Linked DNA regions of Homo sapiens: all the other regions are linked to region 3. The links are contacts of gene promoters, found by promoter capture Hi-C in human tissues and cell types (Jung and others, 2019). All regions are on one chromosome and are shown on one strand. The core of a region is centred on a gene start or on the middle of the fragment in contact, and the rest is flanking DNA. Distances in the headings are between cores, read along the strand shown. Region 1 holds the start of LOC124908001 (a long non-coding RNA gene). Region 2 overlaps RAMP1 (receptor activity modifying protein 1). Region 3 holds the start of RAB17 (RAB17, member RAS oncogene family).

The links. The method cuts DNA at HindIII sites, captures the fragments that hold promoters and counts their contacts. A contact is called where the count stands out against the background at its distance.
Region 1: a fragment that was not itself captured here is called in contact with the fragment with the promoter of RAB17 in region 3 in 1 of the 25 tissues and cell types used here (mesenchymal stem cells).
Region 2: a fragment that was not itself captured here is called in contact with the fragment with the promoter of RAB17 in region 3 in 1 of the 25 tissues and cell types used here (mesenchymal stem cells).

What each region holds. Positions count from the first base shown.
Region 1 is chr2:237,942,944-237,946,428 of GRCh38, reverse strand. LOC124908001 (a long non-coding RNA gene) reads right to left here and starts at 967. Exons shown (of 2, transcript XR_007088146.1): 1 at 342-967. The HindIII fragment of the contact is 3,137 bases long and covers 1-3,070 here.
Region 2 is chr2:237,898,850-237,902,368 of GRCh38, reverse strand. The region is part of intron 2 of RAMP1 (receptor activity modifying protein 1); the gene reads right to left. Among named protein-coding and RNA genes, the nearest start is that of RAMP1, 41 kb to the right of the region's middle. RefSeq lists enhancers at 3,207-3,316, 3,397-3,446, 3,414-3,519. The HindIII fragment of the contact is 6,975 bases long and covers 1-3,519 here.
Region 3 is chr2:237,589,284-237,591,983 of GRCh38, reverse strand. RAB17 (RAB17, member RAS oncogene family) reads left to right here and starts at 1,250. Exons shown (of 6, transcript NM_022449.4): 1 at 1,250-1,517. RAB17-DT (RAB17 divergent transcript) reads right to left here and starts at 824. Exons shown (of 3, transcript NR_187201.1): 1 at 717-824; 2 at 1-112. The HindIII fragment of the contact is 5,809 bases long and covers 1-2,147 here.

The DNA.
Region 1 (3,485 bases), core at 253-2,752, 350 kb before region 3:
TCCTTTCTTCCTTCCTTCCTTCCTTTTCTTTCTTGACAGAGTCTGGCTCTGTCACCCAGGCTGGAGTACAGTGACACATTCTTGGCTCACTGCAACCTCCACCTCCTGGGCTCAAGTGATCCTCCCACTTCAGCTTCCTGAGTAGCTGGACCACAGGCATGTGCCACCACCCCTGGCTTGTTTTTGTATTTTTTGTAGACATGAGTTTTCACCATGTTGCTCAGGCTGGTCTCAAACTCGTCAGCTCAAGCAACCCACTGCCTTGGCCTCCCAAAGTGCTGGAATTACATGCACAAGCCACTATGCCTGGCCTATTAAGGGTTAATTGAACCATTTCTTACCCAAGTGGGATCATATTCTATGTGAGTTTTGTAGCTTGCTCTTCTTATTTTTCCAGCTAACGGCAGGTCTTGAAGGCCTTTTCTGTAAGCGCACGTAGAGCCACGTCACTCCTGTTAAAGGCTGGTGGAGGTGGTGTTGTTCATTACCTTCCTTCTGCTCCCCATGCGTCCAGCCATCTGCAGTCAGGTAGGGCCCTGTGGCTCGCTACGGCTGTTGGGTTGTGGGCAGAAATGATATGACTGGCTCTGATTTACGTGAAAGAGGGAATTAGAAGTCCAGTTTTATCATACAGGCCTAAGAGTCGCACTCAGGCACCCTGTTCCCAGGGGGCATCTGATGGGGAGACACGCAGCAGAGAGAGTTGCAGACAATGCTGGTTGCTATGCCAACATCTACCCTTCCTTTCTTCTCTGTAACAAAGCCTGGCTTGAAGCTGGGTACATCACTTGGTCTCCCTCGATGCTAAGTGTGGCCTTGTGTCTCAGGTCGGGGTGGGAAGGCTGCTCAAATGGGGATGACTCACGCAGGGGGCGCTGCTTTGCCTCCTGCACTCCCTGGGTTCTCCAAAGTGATTTTAAGAAGCAGGCACTTGACAGCCCAGAAGCTTCTCTTCATCCACCGCTTGGCTTAATTGAGGTGGTGGTGGGAGGCCACAAAGGCTGCCCAGCCCCTCGGAACCACTGTCATGTCTTTGGTTCAACCTTCCTTCATCCACGTTGCTCTAGCCAAGAGTCTTTGGTAGCAACAAACAGAGACCCATGCAAGCTTTCTTCCACTAAAACCGGGCAGTCCAGGCAGCAAACTTCAGATTCCAGAAGGCTTCAGGAATGGAAACTTCTCTCTTCTTTGGAGGCCTGCGTCGCTCCACAGCCCTGCCTCTGTCTATTGCTGTCTTACTCTCCATTGTCTCTCAAGCTGCCTCAGGATCCTTAGGTTGTTGCTTTTGCAGTTGGAAACCTCTGTGGCTGGTGGTGCCTTTGCCTGAGTTTTTGCTCAGGCCCACTTGGCTCATTCTGCCCACTTGGCCTGGCAGGCTGCACTCAGCTCGTGCTACTGGCCGGGATCTTACACCTGACAAGGGTGAGCCAGTAGCAAAGTGGAGTGAGTGTGGGGTCCAGCCACTGTGCACAGCCAGGTGAACTGGCTGCTGCTATGGGACAGGCAGCTCCAGGCACTGGCACAGGCACCAACTCTGTGCAAGGCTGCATCTGGATAAGATGTACTGCAGGCGGCTTCCTCTGTGGTTACCTATGTCTGGACGAGGGGAGCATGGTGGTGCCTGGAAGCTTGGCAATACCAGGAACCACAGAGCTCCAAAGAAGGTGTCACAGCCCTGGCTCAGGGACCCCCTATGTCTGGGCTTCCTGAAGGGCCACAGGTCTTCTCTCCTTCTTGTTGCCCACAACACGGTGAGTGGGGGGTTGGGGGGCATGTTTCAGCCCTGTTTGTGTTACAGCTCTTTCAGTCACACCATGTGGTGAGTTCTTGTCCCATGTCCAGGAAGAATGAGGTACGTTGGCAACTGGAGAGTGAGAAAGATGGAGAGGAATTTTAATGAGTGACAGAACAGCTCTCAGGAGACCCAGAGTGGGTAGTTTGTTTCCACAGGGAGGTAGTTCTGATGAATGCAGCCCTCAGCAGAGAGGAGATCCGGAGTGGGTAGCTCCTTTCTGAAGGCAGGGCATCCTGATGAGTGTCCAGCTCTCAATGGAGATGAGACCCAGGGTGGGTAGCTCCTGTCCACAGGCAGGTTGTCCCGACAAGTTGAGGAGACCCAAAGTAGGTCGTCCCTTCCTTCCTGCAGCTGGTAGTCCTGATGTCTGTGGGAGTCTGGGGTTTTTATGGGCTTAGAAGGGAGGAAGTGTGTGCTGACCGTGGGCAGCCATAGGTGGGCCTGGAAAAAGTACCATAAGTTCTCACTCCAGGCTGTGGACTCCATCTGTAACTGACAGCCCAGCCCCTAGGCTTCAGGCTGTCCCTGGCTTGAATGTGGGGCTTCACTGGGGACCCTCCTCTTCCCACTCAGGAGCCTGTCTGCCTCCTGCTGCCATCAATGTGCCATCCACGGCACCCAAGCTGTTCATGTTGAGGGGCACCTGCAGGCCCTCACTGAGCTGCCCTCAGCACCCCTTTGGCTTCCCTCCCATGCTGGTTGACACCCAAAGTCCAGAGGGGGCAAGGTTCCAGGGGGCTGGCATGTCAGCAGCATCCCAAAATCAGGCACTCAGCCAGGTCATGACAGTGCCCAGGATGGGCCACAGCTTTGCTCTACCATAGAGTGGGCACTGGGAGCAGTGGGAAGCCAGGCAGCAGGAGCAGACACTTTCAAGCCTGCAGGGGTAAGGGGCTTCCTGGGCCCCCAAGAGTGCACGGATGCCTGGGTCTGGAGCTGAGGCTGAGTGGCTGCAGCTGCGCCTGGGAGCATGGGGCTTCTGTCCTGCCGACTCAGTAGGGGCCGGGGCTCCCGCCTGTTCTGTGGAGCATGCCGCCCTGACCACACCTCCCCCACTGCAGCTGGCATTTTCACAGTGGCCTCTCCAGATGGGCCATTGCTGCCATCAAAGCCAATGATGTCTACTTGCTCCCTGTCCACATGACTGGTGTTTGCTGTGTCTCTAGAAAAAAAATGTGTCAGCCAAGAGGAGGCTTAATACCCTATGCCAGGCCCTGTGCTATGATTGGCCACTATGTTGATTTAAAAAGACAAGGTATTAAATGTACCTCCCCTTAAATAACGCCATGGGACTGGCAGTTTATGTACTTAACAGGAGCTGGGCAGGACAGATGAAAATGGAAGAGGGGAACATATATTCAGGGTAACTTGACTATATGTCTCCTGGGTTGCAGTCCTCAAATTTGGCCCAAATAAACTCTCTAATTATACTTAAGAAAGACAGAGAGAGAGAGAAAAGAAAATCACAGAAGACAAGAATGAGCTGCATACAAACTTCTTGGTTCAGAGGGGCTTCATTACCCACCATTACAAAATTAGATAGGAAACCAAAAGTCAGCTGAAAATAACCTCTGAAGAACAATCTACTTATAGCCAGGTGTGGTGGCTCATGCCTACAATGCCAGCACTTTGGGAGGCCGAGGCAGGAGGATCACTTGAGCTCAGGCGTTCGAGACCAGCCTGGGCAATA
Region 2 (3,519 bases), core at 130-2,629, 310 kb before region 3:
GCCTCTCCCTCCTCCTCCCAGCCCCTCCTCCACCCCCTGATCCCTCCCTCCTCCTCCCAGCCCCTCCTCCTCCTCCCGATCCCTCCTTACCCCTCCCTCTTCCACCTCGCCCTTGCTCCAGGCCCCCACCTCATCCTCACTCCAGCCTTGCTCCGGGTGGCAGTGGGGCATCCTCACTCACTGAAGACCCCGGGCCCTTACCAGCCCCCGGAGGAGAGGCATCCCCCGCGAAGTGCTCCTTCTCTCTCGGCCTTGGGCTGCACCTGAGAGTTCCCCATTCTCCCTCCTCCACCTGAAGCCTGGGCTGTTCACTTCTGGCTGTGAACACATGTGACTCAGGGCCCCCATGCCATGCCTATCCCCTGAGTTATCATGGCTCCCCTTTCCCTCAAGGGTGCCCTCCCCTCCTGAGGCCCCATCACTGTGCCCAGGATGGGGCAGAAGTGACTCGTCCTGGTGGATGGGTTATTACAACTTACATACCAGCTTCCACTTTTCTGTAGTGAGTATGTGGGGGCTTGGCATCTATCTACCCCTTCTTCTGCCTCCCCCAGTTTAGTCAGGGGCAGCCATCAAACCCCTCCACCGCCCTCCACTCTGCATGCTGGGCTTAGCTACCACGGGCTCTCCAGGCCACATCCCACACCCTGGCCGCTGCCCAAGCCCACCGTCCACACCTTCCCACCCCTGCTTCACGCCTTCAGTGCTCACCATTACACCTGTCCCAGATTCAGAAGCTTCTGTGTGGGTCACTCAACTGGGTCCCCTCCCTCCTGCTGGCCACATTCTAGCCACAGTGGCCAGTGTTCTGCCTCAGGACCTTTGCACATGCTGTTCCTTTTAACTGGAAAGCTCTTAGCCTCATCTTCACAAGGCCACCCTATGCTCGCCCTTCGCTTAAATGTCACGTCCTCAAAGAGGCCTTTTCTGGATGCTTCAATCATATTTGGCTTCCCCAGCAAAGTGGGGTTTTCCTTCATAGATGGGTGTTACTTTGTGGCTGTCCATGAACTCATGTGATTATTCACCCACTGTTGGTCTCAACAACCAGACTGCAGACACCACCGGGGCAGGGAGGGTAAGAGCAAAAATCCCCCTTACTCTGGTCACAGTGGCCACCTCCAAGGCAAAGTGAAACAAAGCCTGAAGGAAGACAGCGAGAGAGGGATGTACCCAGGAGACGCAGACAGAAGGTGAGCAGGGGTGTGGGCTTCCCAGCAGACCTGGCCCAGGCCGGTGAGAAGGGCCATCAGTGGGGCTGATGGGGATGCTCCACCCAGGACAGCTGGCACTGCGCCACAGCGTACAGACAGCCCGCAGCTGCCAGGAACGCAAGACACGTGGGAGACTTAAACACACCTCCCAAGGCTAGGTAGATAAACAGTAGCATAAAGTGATTATGAAAAATAATGTTAATAAACCGATGCAGTGACTGTCTGATAAAGGTTCTATTCTACAGAGACTCAGCCGGCTTTTCAAAGGCCCCTGGGTCTGTGTTAGGCGGCAAAAAGAGACTCATCAAATCCCCAGAGTATAAATCATAAGTCAATATTCTCAGGCTACAATACTGAAAACTAAAAATTAGTTTTAAAAAAAGGATAAATTTAAAAAAATGGAATTCCTAGAAATGAAAGATCATTTATATAATTTCGAAGTCACAGGAGAATTTAAAAATTCAATTACAAAATATTAAGAGAACAAGATCGGCAATACTATATGTACAAATGAATGGAATGGGGCAAAAGTGAATTCTGAGAAAAATTAATAGTTATAAATTATTTTATTAAACAAAAATAAATGAAAATAAACAAAATAAGTATCCAAAGCAAGATATTTTTTAAAAAGAACAAAATAAATCTCTCCAAATGGCACATAATTTGTCCATCAATAATTATTAGAAGCAATATAGGCCAGGTGCGGTGGCTCACGCCTGTAATACCACCACTTTGGGAGGCCGAGGTGGGCAGATCACTTGAGCTCAGGAGTTCAAGACCAGCCGGGGCAGCATGGCGAAACCCCATCTCTGCTGAAAATATCAAAATTAGCCAGGCATGGTGGCACACACCTGTAGTCCCAGTTAACTTGAGTGGCTGAGGCACGAGAATGCCGTGAACCCAGGAGGCAGAGGTTGCAGTGAGTCGAGATCGTGCCACTGCACTCCAGCCTGGGCGACAGAGCCAGACACTGTCCTAAACAAACAAACAAATAAACAAAAAACAAAAAACAGAAAAGAAAAAGAAGAAGTATAAGAGATTAATACGTAAAAAAGGTTTGTTAAAAATTGGAAAATCCTCAGTGAATTGGGATACTTTTTGGTTAAATTATAAACTATCAAATATCGACTTAAAAAGGAGGAATTCCAAGAAGAAAAATGGCAAATGTTATTAAAGAATTGCTGTTTCAAAAGGCACTAGATCCCAGGCAGTTCTTTCAAATTCTTTTTTTTTCTTTTTAATTGAGACAGGTTCTCACTATGTTGCTCAGGCTGGTCTCAAACTCCTGGGCTCAAGCGATCCTCCCACCTCGGCCTTCCAAAGTGCTGGGATTACAGGTGTGGGAGGCGTGAGCCACTGCAAATTCTTAAAGTGAAAGAAAAAGATGTGCAGCTTCCCAGTTCATTTAAAAAAGTTAACAAACCCTGATCCCAAGCCTCTTGAGATGGCATGACATGCGTCTCAACGCATGCGCACACGGACGGAACAGATGCCCTTCGCTTCCACCTATAAATAGACACTCAAGTCCCCTACCCAATGCTAACAAACTTCATCTAGCCACATAGCATATTTTATTTAAAGGAGGGCTAATTTCAGGAATGCTTTAAACCTGTTACTACAAAATCACACTTTAATACACCATGGGAAAAAAATGTACCGTCATTTTAATACGCATTGAGAAGGCATTTGAGAAAACTCAATATTCTTTTCTGATTTTAAAAAAGCCACAACCTTGAAAACACAGAAAGAAGCTATTTTCTTCATGTGATAAAAATCTCTCTCTCGGCCAGGTGCAGTGGCTCACGCCTGTAATCTCAGCACTTTGGGAGGCCGAGGCGGGCGGGTCACCTGAGGTCAGGAGTTCGCGACCAGCCTGGGCAACACGGTGAAACCCCATCTCTACTAAAATACAAAAAATTAGCTGGGTGTGGCAGCGTGTGCCTGTAGTCCCAGCTACTCAGGAGGCTGAGGCAGGAGAATTGCTTGAACCCGGGAGGCGGAGGTTGCAGCGAGCGGAGATCATGCCACTGCACTCCAGCATGGGTGACAGAGTGTGACCCAGTCTCAAAGAAAAAAAAAAAATCACTGTCTCAAACCAATAGCATGCACCCCATTTAGGACTGGAACACAGTGGCATTTTCGTGGCAGCCAGCAACAGGCTTATTTCGCATTTAGGCAGCCAGGGCTGGCTTCTCCCTTGTGGTTTCTGCCTTTGGTGTCAGGGCTCACACCCAGGATTCTGTGAATAGCGGGACCTTTCCAAAGCAGGGAGGGGCTGGCCACTTACTGCGCCACTTCCTCTGTT
Region 3 (2,700 bases), core at 1-2,500:
TCGAGCCACCGCGCTGGCCTCTTTTTGCATTCTTGCTATAAAATTGGTATTTGTATCTTCCTCCCATTCTGCGCTCCCCCAACCCTGCAGGAAGGTGGATTCTTCAAGGGAACTGGAGAGAAGAGAAGCACATTCATGTATTTCCACATTCAGCCTCCATCTCACGAGTTACACCATTCCCAGCACGTCACCACCCCCAGACCTTTGGTTACCAGCCTGGGGGCAGAGGATAAGGACGTCATTCAAAAATAGAGAGATTCTCAAGCCTCCAGAGTGCGGGGGCCCAGCCGAGCATGCTGGCGGCTTCCAGGGAGGTGGCCACGCCCCAGGGGAAGTGGTTGCATGGAGGAAGAATCTCAGAGGAGGCTTGGACGTGGTAGAGCAACGCTAGTCCTGTGTTAGGACTGGCTAGTCCGTCCTGCAGGGATGAGGGGCAGAGCCTCAGCAGAAGTCCAGGCCAGTGTCCCCCCTCCAGCATAAGAGCCCCCCACTCCCACAGGGCGGAGGAACCACTGTGGTGGCGGAGCTTATTTCCCAGCAGCCCCGCGGGATGAGACCCAAACGAGAAGTTAGGGTGAGTTTGGAGGACATAAAGTGAGCTGGCTTCCCGTATACTGGCTGTGTGGAGTAATGTTCACGGCAACAGATTTCCATCTCCTCAGCCTCAGGCCCAACCCTGCTACCCCAGCCATACTCAGAGGCTCTGGAAATCTTACCTGGAGGAGACTCTTCTGTTACCACCAAGCCAGGAAGTTTCATGGCTTGGGAAGACCAAGAGGAAGTCCACCTCCCCCTCTCCTGCACCTGGAGTCTCCCATGTGCACGGAGGCCACGCCCCCACCCCGCCCTCAGGTGGCATCAGCCCAGGATCTGACCCTGGACTGGCTCACACTCAGTTGCCTCTGGCCAGTGCAGGGCTCAGCCAGGGATGGCTTCTAGCTGACAGTGGGAGGAATTAATTCATCTGACCGGAATATTCTTTTCTCTTCTGGGCTGTTGGTTTTTCAAGTGCAACAAAGATTCCATACAGCTCCAAGGAAGGAGCCAAGAAAAACATTCTGTGCCAAAGTGAGATCCTGGAAGTGAAACCCCGGAATAAAGCTGAAAAACGGGCTCCAGTTGGGTGCCAGGAAATGCAGGACTGGAATGTGACTTGACTTCCGGCAGCGCGCAGGTGCTCCCGGGTCACCTGCTTTGAGGTCCAGCCTCCTGCCCTGCCTCAGGTGACCACATGACCACTGTGGACTTTGCCCTGAAACCTTCTGGGAGGAGAAGAGGCCTGACCTTGGCGCTGGGGTCCAGTGGGCATTGCTCTGGTCCGAGGCTGCTGCTCTTGACCTCTGCTCTGCGGCTGTTTTCCATTGGAGTAGAGGCTCCTCCTGTCCTGTCCTGCCTGTGGAGGGAAGCAAACCTTCCCCTGGACCAGAGAGAGGAGAAAGCGGAGACAGGTAGCAACGCTGTGGACTGGTGATGACAGGCTCTTCAGCTCCCTGCAAGTGACCGGGCCTGGGGAACAGGTGAGTCATTGTTTAAACCTCTGTGCCCTTTGTGGAGTGTCTGCCTGTGTGTGTGTGTGTCTCTGCTTCTCTGTGTGTGAGTCTCTGTGTGTCTGTGTGTGTGCTCACGTGTTTGTACCCATGTCTGTATTTGTTTGTGTCTGTGCATGTGCCCATGTGTGTATAATCAAAGGACAAAGCTGGGGCGGAGACTTCCTAGTTCAGATTTCTGATGGCTCACTAAGTCGGATTCCCAGAAGGAGATTCTTATTTGCATTTTTCTTCGGGAAAGTTCCGGTTTTAAGGTCTTGAAAAAAAAAAACACAAAAAACTTCTGGTAATGAGAAGAACTCTTAAAGAAATCCATTTCAAATGACATCAACATTCCCAATTTAATACCCAGTGATATCTAGGAAGCTTGTCAGGTTTTCTTGTAAACTCCTTTTTACAATCTACATTGTGTTTTCTGTATCAGATGGCTGTATTCTGAATGCAATGTACAGGTGTACCTCTCGTAATCTCAATATTCTTCACAGGCCCCAGGCAAGGGTGACACAGGATCACAGTTGCCGATAGACTCATCAATCAGACCCTTCCCTGGAATGGCCCCTTCCCCGCAAAAAAGACTAATGTGGGATTTGCTCTCCGTTTTTTTTCCCTTTAGTGGAAGGGAGGTGCAAGAGATTAAAAAGCCCCAAGTTAAGATTACTAGAGAAGCGCCAGTCTTGAATATGGTGTTCCTGAAAACATCTTTGTCTTCAACAACCTAATAACATCTTTCACTACTAATAACCCCATCTTGATTAAATTCTGGAGGTGGGGGTCAGGTGCCACACTTTTAATTTTCTCTTTGGACAGAAGGCTCCAACCTCTCATTATTGAAAGCTTACAACACTCAATCACACAAAAAGTTATATAAGAAAATGTTTACTGCAGTCTTATTACAGAGAAAAAATTAAAACTAAGTAAAAATCCAGTATTAGGAAAATGGTTCAGCAAGTTGAGATAGTTGTAGAAATGTTATATGTCCATTAAACATGATTTTGAAGCAATGTGTGAGACTGCCTTTGGTATTAAGTATTTCTTACCCATCGGATAATAATTTTATGTTAAAACTATGGGTTTTGGTTTGTTTTTAGGAGTCATAGAAAAAAACTAGAAGTAGGCAAAAATACCATTTGTGGTTGTATTACGGGGGTGGAGT